Regions from separate parts of the Homo sapiens genome. Here region 2 is linked to region 1. Evidence: promoter capture Hi-C in human tissues and cell types (Jung and others, 2019). All regions are on one chromosome and are shown on one strand. Each heading gives the region's core, a stretch centred on a gene start or on the middle of the fragment in contact. The rest is flanking DNA. Distances are from core to core; before and after follow the strand shown. Region 1 holds the start of KLHDC7A (kelch domain containing 7A). Region 2 has its middle 77 kb from the start of KLHDC7A.

Region 1 (3,428 bases), core at 625-3,124:
GGGGGTCGTAACGCTCCACCGAGTTCAGACACTCTCCGCCGATGGCATACAGGTGCCCGTCCAGGGCCACCAGCCGGCAGTGCGGCCGGGCCTGGTTCAGCGGGCACACCTCGCTCCAGATCCCCGTGAGCGGGTTGTAGCAGAAGACGCGGCTGGAGGGCTGGTGCCCGGGCCCCTGGCAGCCGGACACCACGAAGAGATAATTGAAGAGACTGCAGATGGCACAGCCCCGGGACACGGCCTCGGGGGGCATGCGAGCCAGCGGGCGCCAGACATCCTGCTCATCGTCATAGCAACAGAGGCCGCCGGAGTCTTCCTTGGGGCACACGTCAGCCACCACCAGGTACTGGCGGCCCCGGAGCCGGCGCTGCAGGATCAGCTCGCGCTCTGCCCCGCTCAGGCACCCGTAGATGTCCGGGCTGCGCAGCACCTGCAGGTAGTTTTCGCTCATCACCTTGTAGGCCGCCTCTTTCAGGGCCTCCAGGTTCTGCCTCTTGGCCAAGGTCAGCACCTCATAGCAATTGCCCAGATCCAGGCGGACCTGTGGGGCTGAAGCAGGGGTGAGCGGGATATGGAAGAAATTGGTCCCGGCCACCGGCTGCACATGGGGCTCCCGGCTGCTTCTGCCTAAGCCAGGCAGGGCGCCCGGGTCTGGGCAGGGTGGAGCGGGGAGCCGGAAGCCATCTGGCTGCAGCTGCAGCTCTGGGTTCTCCGCTATCTGCAGAAGGCTCTCCTTCCGGCTGAAGCCTCGGGTGGAGGGCCACGGCCCTGTCTGCGGGGAGGCGGCTCTTTCGGCTGCACCCTTTGTGTCACCGGCTTGGCCTCCCGAGGCAGCCCCTGTTCCCAGGGACCCTGGCGGTGGCCTAGGGGATGGAACCTCAGTCAGGGCTGCTGTCCTGGGAGCCAGCCTGCCCTGGAAGATGGCCTGAGAGGTAGATTCCACATAGTAGTCGTACACCTTGCCCTTGAGCCGGGGCTCAACCCCCTCCGCCTTCTGTATGAAATGCTCCTCCATTCGGACGCGGGCTATGGATGAGAAGGTATAGGAGGAGTTGGGGGCGCCCTCCTGCTGATGCAGGGTCAGGTCAACATCGGAGGCAGCCTCGAGAGCCCCAGCCTCTTCTCTGCTGACCCCTATCACACGGGTGAAGACCCAGCTCTGGTTCATGTCACTGCTGCCTTGCAAGGGAGCCACGTAGTGACAGTGGGGAGGTTCTAGTTGCCCCAGTCCTGGATGCTCACGGGGTTTACTGTCCTGCCATGGAGAAGGCTCACCACCGGCACAGCTGCCGTCGGCTGCTGCAATGAGTCCAGCTGGGGAGCTCTTCGGTTCGCTGCCCAAGCGGGGGAAATGGGGAGGGTCAGGGTTACTGCCAACAGCTGTTCTGGTTTCCTGGCTGGGGCAGCAAGGAGGCACCTGCTCAGAGTCCGAGCCCTGCCCGCCCCGCTCCTCACCTGAGCCTTTTCTCTGGGGCTTCCTGTCTGTGGAAGTGGCCCCCGTGACCAGGACATAGGGGCCTCTTGGATTCTCACAGCTGCAGCCCTGTGGTGCTTCAGCCCGCTTGCTGCTCCTCCGACGTCTTGGCCCCCTCAGGAGCACCCCAGGAGAAGCCTCCTGTACAGCAGGCTGCCCTGAGCCCTCTGCTTCCTCCTTGGCTTCTGCCTGGCCATTCCCACCCCACCGCTGGGCTGGGGCAGGCCTCGACTTGTACAGCCTGTAGGCCACAGTCACCAGGAGCAGGGCAGCGGCTGACAGCACCACCTTGCCGGTCAGCTGCATATCCAAATGCCAGTCCTGGGCCTCTGCTCCTCTGGGGAACATGCTTCTCCAGCCAACCTGGGGCTGAGGAATGTCAAGAATCTGATTAATAATTGCCCAGTAGGGACCAGTTCCTGGGTCCTGCTGAGCGGAGGGGAGGGAGTTCTGGGCTGGTTCTGGCTGGCCAGCCGAGGAGAGGAGAGGAGCAAAGGTGACTTTGAGCTGCAGAGGGTGGCCGCTGGGGCCCAGAGCTGGCAGATCCCAGCGGCTGGCCTCCTTCCATGCTTCCCTGGTGGCTGGGGTGGGGGGCCCGCCCAGGGGCTGAGCTTGTGATCAGCCACCTAAGCCAGCTCTGTGGTCAGCAGCTAGGGGATGTTAGGAGTATCCAGTGGGCATACAAAAGAGGAGGAAGCTCTTAACCAAACAGTCACCCGATGCCAGGAAATGCATGGGGTTGGTTATTCTTTATGTGTGTGCTTTATTTTCTCTTTTGCAAGTCCACTGGGCTCAGAGGCTTGGGTGTGGTGAGTCATGGGCAGGTGGAGCCCCAGTAGGCGTGGATGGGGTCATTCTTGTGAGGTCTGCTGGTCCTCACAGTGGGGTCAACTTTATGCTGGCCAAGCAGGGAACGGGAACATGGCAGTGGAGTCTGGAGCCAGGGCATGCAGCCAAGCCACCTGAGCCGGCCCTTGAGTGCCTCTGCCCTCCTTCCCTGCCTGACAAGTTTATTAAGAAAAACCAGCCTTTCTGAGAACAGTGGAGAAAGACATTGCATTAGTGCTCAGATCGGGGTTAGATGTGGACACATCTTCTCTTTTAAAACCAGACAATCTCCTACGGTGAAAGATTGAGGGAAGACTCACGTCTCCCAGACCCCCCCTCACCATTTCCCCTCCCCCATCACCAGTGCTGTGGGTCCTGGACCCAGACTACCTGGCTCTGCTACTTACCAACTATATGACCTTAGGCAAGAGACCTCACCGCTCTGTGCTTTGTCTGAAAAAGGAGGATGACAGCATACGCACCTCATCAGCTTGTGGGGAGAACTAAATGGGCTACTAGGAATAAACACTGGGGCAGAGCCCCCATCATGAAAGCTTAGTAAATATGAACTATTCTCTGCTTCTTCCTCCTTTTCCTCTTTCTGATCATCGGCACCATCATCGCTAGTATCAATTGTCATCAGAGGACCTTCCAAAGCACAGAACTAATTCTACCCTTCTCCTGACCAAGGTCCTCAAAGAGTCCCCAAAGTCCTGTGCAGGGGTCTCAAACTCTTGCTGCATATGGAGGCTGGGTAGGTAAAGTGAACAAGTAAGGACGTCTGTCCGCCCCACCCCAGCCGATGGTATCAGGCCCAGCATTGCCTCATCCTCCCACTGTCGCAAAAAGCTTAGAATCCCAGTAGTGACATAATCACTCTCAATTTTAAAATGTTGGCATCTGATTCAAAAATGAAACTGAAAAACACTGTGGGCCACAGGAAGCACACGCATGGGAGGAATTTGGCTCTGAAGGCTTTGACTCTAGGAGACAATCCTGACTCCCTATGCCGACGTTCACAACTCTCTGTGTACCAGCTTCGGTTTACTCTTCCAGATGCATCTCCTGATCACTGCCTAGCAAACCGGGCTCAGGGTGACTTCTTGGCAGGGAAGGCTGGTGGACA
Region 2 (3,428 bases), core at 689-3,188, 78 kb after region 1:
AAATGTGCTAGTGAGTGGATCACAGCTGTGGGCAACTGGGCTCAAGCCCTTTGTGGTCTCTCTGAGACCCTGAGTGGAACACACCTTAGAGTTGTCCCCCTGAGGGCTGAGGAAGCTGGCAGACTTATGCACTGGATTGATGGCTCATTAATGGCCTCCCTGTGGTCCATACCCTTGTGGAGGCTTCTCCCACATTGACTCTAGGTGGGGCCATGTAACTTACTTTAGCCATTGGAACATCAGCAAACATGATGCCAGCAGAGGCTTGATGAACACTTAGAATTAGGGCTGGCCCTCTGGGACTGCTGCTGCTACCACATAAGAAGCCTGGGCTGTTCTGCCAGAGGCCATACAGAGGGGACTGAGGCACCCCAGCTCACAGCTGCCCCTACACAATAGAAACGCGAATGAAGTCATATGGGACCATCCAGTCCAGGCAAGGCACCAGATTACACCTGCATGAGTGGCTCCAGGCTAGATGAGCAGGAGAACCTTCCAGCTGAGCACAGTCCAATTGCAGAGTCATGAGCAGATATATGATTGCTATGATAAGCCGTCAAGTTTAGTGTTTATTATGCAGCAATAGATAACTGATACACTCACCAATTCCTATCCTTTATTGTTGTGGGTTGTTCTGGGGGTGTTAACTCCCAGGTGTTCCTGGCTGGCCCTGCACTTGGATTTGTATGTCCAGAGAAAGCCTTCAGTCAGAGAGATATCCTATTTTGAGGCAGGACATCATCTCGGGGTATGAGAACTGTTTATCAGAGCCTTAGGCAACTTCCGGGTGGGCTGAGTTGTTGGGACGGAGCACCAATAGCGCCTGCTACAGTCACCTGGCTCTGAGAATAATCAGAGAAGGCTTCACCCTGGAAGGTTCTGCTTCTAACAACTAAGCTTCATGAAGACAGACACCTGGACTGCCACCATCTAGAACAGTGCCTAGGTGTGCCATAAATAATCATTGGATGTAAGAATGGATGAAGTGTAAAGTTGACTTGAAGCTAAAGGATTTGTAGAAATTAACCAGGTGAACAGGGGCAGCCAGACATCCCTGGGCAGAAAGATCAGCACCAGGCCCCTGTGCCCAGGCCCATGTGACTGGAGTCTAGAGGGGAAGGAGAGTGCAGTACAAAGTGAGACCTGGGACATGTAGGACCTTAGAGACCCCCAGTACGGCTCCCCAGAGCAAATGGAGAGCCAAGGAAAGGTTGAGTTAGAGAAGGAGGCTTTGTTTGATTTGCTTTAGGAAAGACCACTCTGGCTGCTTTGTAGAGAAAGGTCTGGAGGAGCAGAGGCAGAAGGCAGGGGAGGAGGGCATCTCACAGTCCAGACAAAGCACAGACTTGGGTGGGTGTGGAGATGGACAGACATAGGTGGATCCAAGAGATACTGAGGAGGTGAAGTCAGTAGGCCTTGATCAAGGAGCCCAACAAGGGCTCGTTCTGACCTTCCAGCCCTACCTTTGCTCCTGGCTCCTTCCTGATTCATCCATCAATAGCATCTTCACTGGTAAGCCTTCCCCCCAGGCCACACTGGGGGCTCCTCCTCTGTGTCTCCAGGGTGCCTTTTTCTTCAATTATGGCACATCACACATGGAGGTCAGCTTTTAATAGTGCTGGGCTCATGGTAGCCACACCATAAATATTGTCCTACCTTCGTTCCTTCCTCCCTTCCCCCACTTCCTTTCTTCCCTCTCCATTTCCTTCTTTCCTTTTGCATTCACTAAACCTGGTATCAGGTCCCCTGCAATATGAAACCACCCCACATAGCAAAGAGGTGGTGTGGGGAAGGAGCAAAGAACGTGGCATTTGGGTTCAAAGGGATTTCAGCTCAAACCCAGCTCAACTTCTTATTAGCTCTTATTAGTGTGACTTGCTGTCTTGCTGAACCTCACTTTACTTACCTGTGAAATGGTGCTCATGCCTTACAGGACTGGCATAAGGAGAGGCAGGATTATAAGATGCAGCACATGTATCCTCGGCAAAGGAGGCTGTCTTTGTGTTTAACCCCAGATCCGAGGGCTGAGATTGACTTGATGGGACAGGGAGGAAGGGCTGCTTCTGTCTCTCTTTTCTCCTCGTAAAATGCGCAGCCTGGTTTCCTGAGGTTATTAAATGAGGAGCTGGAGTGATTAGGCTGTTCTCTGAGGCCTGGCTTACATCCCATTTTCATTTGTGAAGCCAGTTAGGAGGAGGCAATCTTTTTATTTTTTTCTTTTAAATTAAATTGGCAAAGTTCTGCAGGAATCTTTGAAATGTTCAGAGTGGTGGCTTTTTAAAATAAAAGGAAAGATAAAGGAAGCCATCCCAGTCCTTGGGTCACACAGGGATTGTGTGGCCCCAAACATTGTTTGAAATGACAACCGTCAGCAGATACCCAGGGACCCGCTTTGTTGTAGAGAGAGAATCCTAGGGTTTGTTATAAGGGGTTTTGCCCCACCGAGCCCTCTCAAGAGAGCACTTCCAAGGAGCTCAGTGCATTTTATATCCATTAGAGTTTCACTTGTCAAATCAGAGATGTAATAAAACCGGTCTCCGATGCTTCACAGAGAACGCATGTGAAGACGTTTTGATAAAGTTAAAAGTGTTCTACAAATGTAAGGTATTATTAGCAGTGGCTGCCATGCCCTGAGAGGGGAGGTGATTTTCCCAAGGTCACAGAGAAAGTGGGTGGAAGAGCCAGAAAAAAGAAGTGGAACCTCTTCTTTATCCCGAGGGTTGAGACCTTGTCTCGTTTTACTCAAGTTGTCTACATAGCACTAAAACAGGACCAGCACACAGCAAGTGCACCATGAATACTGCTCACTGAACAAATGAGTGAATGAGTGAATGATGCTCTAAAAGTCCTGGGAGCCTGAAGGACCCTCATAACTCATCTGTACAGGGTCTTCCCATCCCATAACAGGCCTGGACTGGCCCTTGTCTCTCTTTTTCAGCTCTCCGGGTATCTGTGCCCTTGGCCATGTGATTTTGCATTGCCTCTCACTAGTAGACAGAGAGCATTTCTCACCCTCTGACTGTGAACCTGGCCATGTGACTGGCTTTGGCCAATAAAACAAAGTGAGGCAGTGAGCCTAATTCTGAGTTTGGGACTGGAGACGCCTTGCATGGTTCCACTGGCCCTCTGCTGTAGTTGCTGGAGAATGTGCCCGAGCTAGCCAGCTAGAAGCAGAATGAGAAACATATGGAGCACAGCTGCCCTGGTCCAGCTGCCCAAGAGGAGTCCAGCCCAGAGCAGAGCTCCCCAGCCAACCTGCAGATGTGGGAGCTCAATAAATGCTTTTTGAAGGCTGGGCGTGGTAGCTCTCACCTGTAATCCCAGCACTCTGGGAAGTCAAAGCTGGTGGATTGCATGAGCCCAGGTATTTGAGATCAGTTTAGGCAACATGGTGAAACCCTGTCTCTACAAAAAATACAAAAATTAGT

The links. The method cuts DNA at HindIII sites, captures the fragments that hold promoters and counts their contacts. A contact is called where the count stands out against the background at its distance.
Region 2: a contact is called between a fragment that was not itself captured here and the fragment with the promoter of KLHDC7A in region 1, in 3 of the 25 tissues and cell types used here (liver, stomach and thymus).

Annotation. Positions count from the first base shown.
Region 1 is chr1:18,479,376-18,482,803 of GRCh38, reverse strand. KLHDC7A (kelch domain containing 7A) reads right to left here and starts at 1,874. Exons shown (of 1, transcript NM_152375.3): 1 at 1-1,874. The coding sequence starts at 1,822. RefSeq lists enhancers at 1,052-1,923, 1,924-2,796. The HindIII fragment of the contact is 16,937 bases long and covers 1-3,428 here.
Region 2 is chr1:18,401,724-18,405,151 of GRCh38, reverse strand. No RefSeq gene overlaps it. Among named protein-coding and RNA genes, the nearest start is that of KLHDC7A, 77 kb to the left of the region's middle. The HindIII fragment of the contact is 5,671 bases long and covers 1-3,428 here.